Regions from separate parts of the Homo sapiens genome. Here regions 1 and 2 are each linked to region 3. The links are contacts of gene promoters, found by promoter capture Hi-C in blood cells and fetal thymus (Javierre and others, 2016). All regions are on one chromosome and are shown on one strand. Each heading gives the region's core, a stretch centred on a gene start or on the middle of the fragment in contact. The rest is flanking DNA. Distances are from core to core; before and after follow the strand shown.

Evidence for each region. The method cuts DNA at HindIII sites, captures the fragments that hold promoters and counts their contacts. A CHiCAGO score of 5 or more calls a contact.
Region 1: a contact is called between a fragment that was not itself captured here and the fragment with the promoter of TMEM11 in region 3, in 1 of 17 cell types (total B cells). The highest score is 5.2, in total B cells.
Region 2: a contact is called between a fragment that was not itself captured here and the fragment with the promoter of TMEM11 in region 3, in 5 of 17 cell types (activated CD4 T cells, total B cells, neutrophils and 2 more). The highest score is 7.1, in activated CD4 T cells.

The regions. Positions count from the first base shown.
Region 1 is chr17:21,544,019-21,546,933 of GRCh38, forward strand. All of the region lies in intron 1 of LINC02693 (long intergenic non-protein coding RNA 2693), which reads right to left. Among named protein-coding and RNA genes, the nearest start is that of LINC02693, 6.2 kb to the right of the region's middle. The HindIII fragment of the contact is 3,454 bases long and covers 1-2,915 here.
Region 2 is chr17:21,518,518-21,521,217 of GRCh38, forward strand. It overlaps LOC105371589 (a long non-coding RNA gene), which reads left to right. Exons shown (of 4, transcript XR_934332.3): 3 at 968-1,187; 4 at 2,548-2,700. Among named protein-coding and RNA genes, the nearest start is that of LINC02693, 32 kb to the right of the region's middle. The HindIII fragment of the contact is 6,064 bases long and covers 1-2,700 here.
Region 3 is chr17:21,212,845-21,215,544 of GRCh38, forward strand. TMEM11 (transmembrane protein 11) reads right to left here and starts at 1,317. Exons shown (of 2, transcript NM_003876.3): 1 at 1,247-1,317. The coding sequence starts at 1,308. TMEM11-DT (TMEM11 divergent transcript) reads left to right here and starts at 1,481. Exons shown (of 2, transcript NR_184102.1): 1 at 1,481-1,606. RefSeq lists enhancers at 1,219-1,318, 2,089-2,298 and silencers at 1,399-1,538, 1,659-1,928. The HindIII fragment of the contact is 13,322 bases long and covers 378-2,700 here.

The DNA.
Region 1 (2,915 bases), core at 157-2,656, 330 kb after region 3:
TTCCCACTGAATAACACTCCTATGTGAGAGCGGCATGGCGGCCAAGGTCAGCTGGCTCAAGGCAACTGCCTCCTTTTTTCCTAACAAGCAACATTTTCAGGGAAAAACCCCAGCTTCAATGTAGGAAGGTTTTGATGGTGGCTCAGGCCTCGGACTGAATTAAAAAGGAATAAGGAGATAAAATCCATATTTTAATTATAAACAAATGTCTCACTGAAAAAATTCCAGACCCATAAATCCATCTATGTATTAGTTATTGGAGTAATTTAAAATGTGAGGAAATTATAAAGTGTGTGTCCCTTATTATATATTTCTTCCCCCCACCACTTTTTGAACATCTAAAGTTCCTAACACATAGATACTCTTTTATGAGGAAAAAAAAACCTGTTGACATTGATACAGTTTGAATATTTGTCCCCTCCAGATCTCATGTTGAAATTTGACCTCCTAGTGAGACCCTGTCTCTACAAAAAATTAAAAACTTAGTTGGGCATGGTGGATTGAGCCTGTTATCCCAGCTACTCAGGAGGCCGAGGTGGGAGGACCTCTGGAGCTCCAGGAGTTGGATGCCACAGTAAGCTACGGCTCAGCTCAGCCATGGCTTCTATAGTGAGCTATAACTGCGCTACTTCACTCCACCCTGGGTGACAGAGTCAGATTATCTCTTTAACAAAACAAAACAAAACAAAACAAAACAAAACAAAACAAAACAAAACAAAACAGAAGAAAGAAATTTGATTCCCAATGTTGAAAATGGGGCCTAGGATGGGTGTGGTGGTGCAAGCCTGTAATCCCAGCACTTTGGGAGGCCGGGGCAGGCAGATCACAAGGTCAGGAGATCGAGACCATCCTGGTTAACACAGTGAAACCCCGTCTCTACTAAAAATACAAAAAATTAGCCCGGCGTGGTGGTGGGCACCTGTAGTCCCAGCTACTCGGGAGGCTGAGGCAGAAGAATGGCATGAACCTGGGAGGCAGAGCTTGCAGTGAGCTGAGATCATGCCACTGCACTCCAGCCTGGGTGACAGAGCGAAATACCATCTCAAAAAAAAAAGAAAGAAAGAAAGAAGAAAGAAATTTGATTCCCAATGTTGAAAGCGGGGCCTAGTGAGAGGTGTTTGGGTCTTTGAGGGCAGATCCTTCAGGAATGGCTTGGTGCTGTCCCAGTGGTAGTGAGTTCCTGCTCTATGAAACATGAGAGCTGGTTGTTGGAAGGCACGTGGCACCCCACCTCCTTTCTTCCTTGCTCCACTTCCCCTTCCACCATGACTGGAGGCTTCCTAGGGTCCTCACCAGAAACAGATGGTGGTGCCAGGCTGGTACAGCCTGCAGAATCATAAGCCAAATAAATCTCTTTTCTTCATAAATTACCCAGCCTCGGGTGTTCTTTTATAGCAACAGAAAATAGACTAATACAGACATCAATGTGAATATTTAATATTGGAAAATTTTTTTTCATTTTCTATTTTGTCTGTATAGCTAACATTAAAGAAGCCAAAGATATAGAATGCTACATCTCAGATATTGCATTTTGTAAAAAACATGAAGGTAAAATCTTTGTTTCTTCAATTACTAATCAATGATAGTTGTACTTTGCCCATTCTATGCAGAATACAGTTCCATGAACCGTGGGGAGATGGAAAATAACCATGTCCCAGCCTTCCAGGCAAGTCCCTGGAAGGAATGGCTTGGTGCTCTCCCAGTGGTAGTGAGTGAGTTCTTGCTCTATGAAACATGAGAGCTGGTTGTTTGAAAGCGCGTGGCACCCCTGGTGCCTGGAAGGCTGGGACAGGTAAGATTGCATCTCTGTGCTCTGCAGTGTCTGTCACACAGCAGGCACTTAATGAGAAGGCTGCTGAATGAAAGAATACTTCCAACCAGCTTGGAGCCCAAATGCAGGTTCTCCCTGAAGTTCTGACCTCACGTTGTGGGCACTGTGGGCTTCCATGCACATGTCCACACCACCCGTGCACCCACTTCCTTCCTGGACCTGAGCAGAGCCCCACTTTCCAGCTCCTGCCTGTGAGGGGATAACCAGGCCCCTGGGACCCACAGCTCCAGCAGCTGGAATTCAGAGTTTATGACCTGCTGTTTTCCACATTCCCCCTCCCTCCCCCTCAGGACCTGCACCCCACTGCACGGCACCTTCTATTCTGCTGTCATGGCCCAGAGCTCTGTTCATCTGCTTCAAGCAGCTCTCCACCCCGCTTCCTCCCTCCCCTCCTGCTGGATCTCTTTCTTTCATTGGTTCTTGTCCCGTTCCCTCAGTAAAAGAACTCTCCTTCCAATCTGCCTCATTCACATTCACTTGGGAACCAAAAATTCACCCCACAGCTTAGTATTCCCAGTTGTGGAAAAATTCAGGCACCTTCTGGATGAGACAAATGTGAAGAAGCCAGACATGAAAAAACACTTATATGGATTGATTTATATGAAATGCCCAGGGAAGAAAAATCTATTGAGATGGAAACTAGATTTGTGATTGCTTACAGCTGGGGTAGGGGTGGGGGAACAGGGTGATAGCTAAAAGGTACAGGACTAATAAAAATGTTGTAAACTTAACCATGGTTTTGGTTGCACATATCTGTGATTATACTAAACCCTAGCAGATCATAAGGTATGTGAATTTTTCCTCAATAAAGCTGTTTAAAAATAAAAAAAAAATTAGGCTGGGCACAGCAACTTACCCTGTAATACCAGCACTTGGGGAGGCTGAGGCAGGAGGATTGTTTGAGGCTAGGAGTTCAAGACCAGCCTGGACAATAGAGTGAGACCCCATCTCTACAAAAGATTTAAAAAATTTAGCCAAGCATGGTGGTGCGCACTTGTAGTCCTAGGTACTTAGGAGGCTGATGTGGGAGGATCACTTGAGCCTGAGAGGTGAAGGCTGCAGTGAGCCGTGATCATGCTACTGC
Region 2 (2,700 bases), core at 94-2,593, 310 kb after region 3:
TTCTCCTTCTCCTCCTGCATTTCTTGTGCTCCTCCCCAAGGTTTGCCAGCGCGCTCACAACCCTTGCTTGGGATTTAAAATCTGAAGTGCGTCATAACTCACCCCTGGACTCTGTTATTCTTTTATTGGTATGCCAGAAAAAAAGAACCCCAAGCTCTCTGGGTGACCAAATTGATATTTAAAGCATTAATTATTAACTCTATTCTTACAACCTCCAGATTTTATCTCCACTCAGAATTATATGTACAGCTGCCTAGCTGATTTCCAGACTGAAATGCCTCTTTGACATTACAGATTAAAACTGATCCCACTCTATTGTCCAGGTCATCTTCCTTGACTTGGCTGTGACCCAGACTTACTGTCTAAATAAATGGTGTGACGGCTCACCTAGGGACCCCAATCCAGACTCTAGGAGAGTTTCTTCAGCCTGTATCCCCCCATGTCATGAATAATCCATTACCGAGTCCTGTTCGTTCTTCCTATACATCTCTCCAAAGGCTTCCCTCCATTTCCACAATGACCCCAACTGTTTCACCACTCGCTCCTCAAAGAACCTCTGGATTTGTTTCTAGCTTTTGGCTATGAGGAATAAGCCTGCTGAGAACATTCAGCTCCAGGATTTTGTGTGAATGTAAGTGCTTTAGTGGTGGGGCGGGACCCTGCAGGCCATCCCTGGGTTGGATGATTCTCTAGAGGGACCCAGAGAACTCCACCAAGCTGACCTAAGGCCCTGAAAGTCAAACAGATACCGCATGGCCCAATGCCTGCACCATAGCTCACTTGTTGGAATAAACTGCCTAAGAAAAATGGGGGTACGTGGTTACATTATCAGAGGCATCCCAGGTGGATCCTGGAGACATGGACAGTACCCGTAGTCACGAAGCTGACAGCTGGAAGAAGCCCATCTGGTTCAACCCCTGTCTGGCATATTCCTTCCTTCTCCATCCTCACTTTCTACCCCTCACAGGGACAGAGAATTTACAGCTTACCGAGCCAGGCCATTGCACTTTTGGACAACTCTACTAAATGGATTTTCCTCATGCCATTGCATAACTGCTACCTGCCACCAGAGCCTCAGAAATACATGGTTTTCCATCAAGCACTCATGGAACATGTAACTGTGGGCGCTTCTAGGGCGGTTCATGATGGATCCTCCAAGATCAACTAAATATAAAACAAGCTCCCAGGTAACAGAACCATTTCAGCTGTTAAATAAAATCATCTGTATTAACCTAGTTTAATTATGAGGGACATCTCTCCCAACATAATATATATATATATAATAAATATATACATATATAATATATAATAAATAAATATATATAATAAATATATTATATATATATATATATATATTTTTTTTTTTTGAGACAGGGTCTCACTCTGTCACCCAGGCTGGAGTGCAGTGGTGCCATCACAGCTCACTGCAGCCTCAACCTCCTGGGCTCAAGCAATCCTCCCACCTCAGCTTCCTGAGTAGCTGGGACTATAGATGAATGCCATTATGCCCGGCTAATTTTTTAAAAACTTTTTGTAGAGGCAGGGTTTCGCCATGTTTCCCAGGCTGGTCTCCAACACTAGGGCTCAAGCAATTTGCCTGCCTTGGCCTCCCAAAGTATTGAAATTACAGCATGAGCCACTGTGCCTCCAACATACTCATAATTTTTTTAAAAGAATAGTTGGTATTTGGGGGCTGGGTACAGTGGCTCACACCTGTAATCCCAGCACTTTGGGAGGCAGAGGCAGGTGGATCACTTCAGGTCAGGGTAGTTCGAGACCAGCCTGGGCAACATGGTGAAACCCATCTCTACTAAAAGTACAAAAATTAGCCAGGCGTGGCACACACCTGTAGTCCCAGCTACTTGGGAGGCTGAGGCGAGTGGATTGCTTGAACCCGGGAGTCAGAAGTTGCAGTGAGTGGAGATCGTGCCACTGCACTCCAGCCTGGGTGACAGAGCAAGACTCCATAAAAAATAAATAGTTGGTATTTGAGCCTTTCTTTCTGAAAATGATTGATAATGGCCCCATTCATCTGTTGAGGTTTTATATGAAAACAAAACCTTATACCGTTGTGTGGAGAAAGGTGCTGACTGTCCTCTTTGTGGTGGGGTGAATATGGCTTCAGCACACCCAGCAGCTGTTTTGGGTTCTCAAGAAGGGAGGCCCAAAGTAGTCCAATCGTAATAGGGTCTCTCAGAAACCCAGCCCAGCTACTCCCCTCCCTCAAGGGAGTTTGTGACCTTGCTACTCACAGCGTGGTCCATGCATCAGCAGCACTGGGGTCACCTGAAGTTTGTGTGAAATGTGGCATTCCAGGCCTGCTGCACCACGTGCATCAAAGCACACACGTTCTTCCTATTGCTGAGAGGGAGGAGGGACGGCAGCACAGGAGCAAAGCCATCACTGTGATTGCGGTTAGGGACAGTGCCAGAGCACCCAGCCCCGAGCCCCACCACCACCACCCCTTGTCCTTAATTACAGAATTCACTTGAAATTAAAAATCCCCGCTCCCTAAATACCCACCCTCTCCTCTGGCTTTCTTTTTAGCTGAGGCAGCTGCTCTCGCCTCTTCTTTCACTCGCTCCTGGCAGCACAGCAATCTCTGCAAGTTACTTGGACCCTCAGGACTCCTTGTTCAAGTGCAATGGAGGACCATGCAGATGGCAGGGAAAACCAAAGAAAGCTCAGGTGGCCCATCAT
Region 3 (2,700 bases), core at 67-2,566:
GAGGTAACTTATTTAAATGGTCCAATCTAATACCAGGCGGGAGTTAGAAAAACAAAAGTGTGTTTACCACTGCTTTTCCAAGGAAGAGGAAATGCAGAATGGGCAACGCTGGATAACTGGGCTAAAGAATAAAGTGCAAGCAAGCTAAAGGATTCTATCACAACTGCCAAACAGGAAGAATCTTCCCAGCTGGGAAAGCCATCTGCAAGCAATAGCAATGAACACGGGATGGAATCAGTCACAGAAAAGGAATAATGCAGAGTAGTTGAGAGGAAGATAACTTTTCTGTTAGACAATCCTCACCAAAAAGACGGGGAGGGGGAGAACCAGCAAAACAAAAACTTTTCCTTTTTTGCTGACCGCTGCTATAACAATCAAGCTTTAGCGGACAGTTAATCCAGGTGGCTCCACCAATACATCTTCTCCCAAATTTCTAGTGGCTGAACAGCTTCTAGTGGTTTCCACTAGCTGAAACTGCTTCCCAGATGCAAAAACTGCAACTTGAACATGAAACACGGAAACTACTCCAATCTCATCTTCTAGAAATCAGTTATTCAAATGGAGGTCCCTGTTGGAAGAAACACGCTCCTAGCTCCCTGCCCACACACCATTCATTAGGAAAGGTCACTTTAAAGGACTTCTACGGCAGGAGCGCTTGCACAGAACCATCCAAAAGTCTTCAGAATCTTCCCTCGAGGAAGTGGCCGGCTCTGGGCTCGGAAGAGACACATCTGGCGGGAGCTAAAGCTCCCTAGTAAACGTGCAGATCAAACTACCCCTGCCGCGGCCGGCCTGCTCTGTGAAGGCTTCCCCTTCTTTCTCTCTCCGGGGGCCCTGCCTTCCTCTACACGTCTGGGGCCGCGGCCGAGATGGCCACGCGCGTGCCCAGGCGGGAAGGGTGCTTCAGCAGCCGATCGGCCCGCGGGCAGCTAGGCGGGTCCCTGAGGCCTGCGCTGGGCGCCAGTTCCTTTCAGCACGGCCCGGCCTCGGGCCCCGCCCCGCATGGCCGCTGCCTACCTTACTCAGCCCGGCTAACGCCCCTTCCCCTAAGCTCTCCGCCGAGGCCTTCGACCTCGCTCCCACCCGGATCCCGGATCCTCCGGAACTGGAACCCAGTATGCCCGGCGAGGGTAGGGGGAGCGCGGGGAAACCAGGGAAGGAAGGCTGCTGCAGCCCTCGGAGGCCGCGCTGGGCTCTCCGGCCGCTGAGCCGCCTGCACTGGGGGCAACAAGCCCTTGGATCTCACCTCTCTCGGGCGCTGCCGCCACTGCTGCCCGGGCCAAGACGCCTCCTTCCCCAAGCGGCCATCTTGGAGACACTCTGCTTGCCAACGTCTCGCGCCAAGGCGGCATCGGGAGAGCAGGCGGGCCGACGGGAAGTGTAGTCCGGCCTGCGGTCCGGGGCCGCTCGGCAGGCGGAAGCCAGACCCGGCGGAACTACCGTGCCCACAAGGCAGCGCGCCGGAAGCCCCGCCCCCGGGGTCGCCGGGGCCCGTAGTCCTTCTGCGAGGGCGCGAGGACTCCAGGAGCCGTCCTGGTTCGAGCATTTCTGAAGAAACTGAGTTCCCGGCGTTCGCAGCCTGGGAGTCACAGGCGCCCACCCACCGGTAGGTCCTTGAGTTTCGAGAGCCAGTAGCTGAAGGAGAGAGGAGAGGCAAGTGCCTACAACTCCCAGAGCACTGCGCGGAGGCGCCCGGCCGCGCTGTCCTGGCCGCCAGGCTGCCTCTCCCGCTGGGGGCCGCCGCGCTGTCTGCGGGCTACTAGCGCCGGGCCCCTCCGCGTCGCCACGCCTGCCCTTCACAGCCTTGGCCCATAAGGTCACCGAGGGGCGGGAGGCGCCGCCCGGGCCCTCCTTGGAGGCGGGCGCTGCTCCCGCACCATCCTCCCCCAGTTCTCTTAGACTCCGGGGTACTTTGGAGGCCGAGACAGACACGCTGTCCCTGCTGCCACGGAGGTCCCTGCTTGCAGGTGCAGGCTGTTAGAGGAGAGGGTCTGAAAACAAGAAAGGGGAATAGCTGTATGATAACTGCTTGAAGGCGAGAGGGCCCAGCGACAGCTCTGTTTTAGACAGGGCCTCCAGGCCTCTTAGACTCAGTCCCTGCCACGCACCCACTCCTGCCCTGGCCGCTGCGACGGCATAATCTCGGGATCTTTGAAGGCAGATGCGGGGCTAAACCATCCCACCTGACGGGAACCCTGCCACAGGACCCGACATATCCCTGTCTGGACACTGCTGTAACGAGTCAAAGTCAGGAAGGACTAACTGGAGCCCAGAGATTCCCAGGTGCTGCTGCCTCAGACCTGTGGACTCTTTGGAGGATCTCTTACAGTTTGTGAACTTCTCAGTTCCTCTACTGCTCCCACAGACAACGTTGCTAAACATATTAATTGGTCCCATAAATACTTGAGCAAAACAAATGCGAAAATCTGTCCCGAATTCAGCCTAGAAGAAGCCCAGCCCTGCGCGTCACACTTCTGTGTAGTGGAACCCCCCTTCCCACCCCGCCGCAGGCCACAGCAGGAGGGCCAGCAGACGGAAAGGCGACCCTCTCCTTGTTGAGGATTCCTTTCGATTTCCTTCCAGCTGACATTCTACCACAGTTTTAGCTGCTTGCAATCCTCTCACCGTCCCTCATCACCTACAGTGTGTGATTCAAATTCCTTAGCACAATCAAGAAGCCCCTCCTTAGTTTGGAAGTTG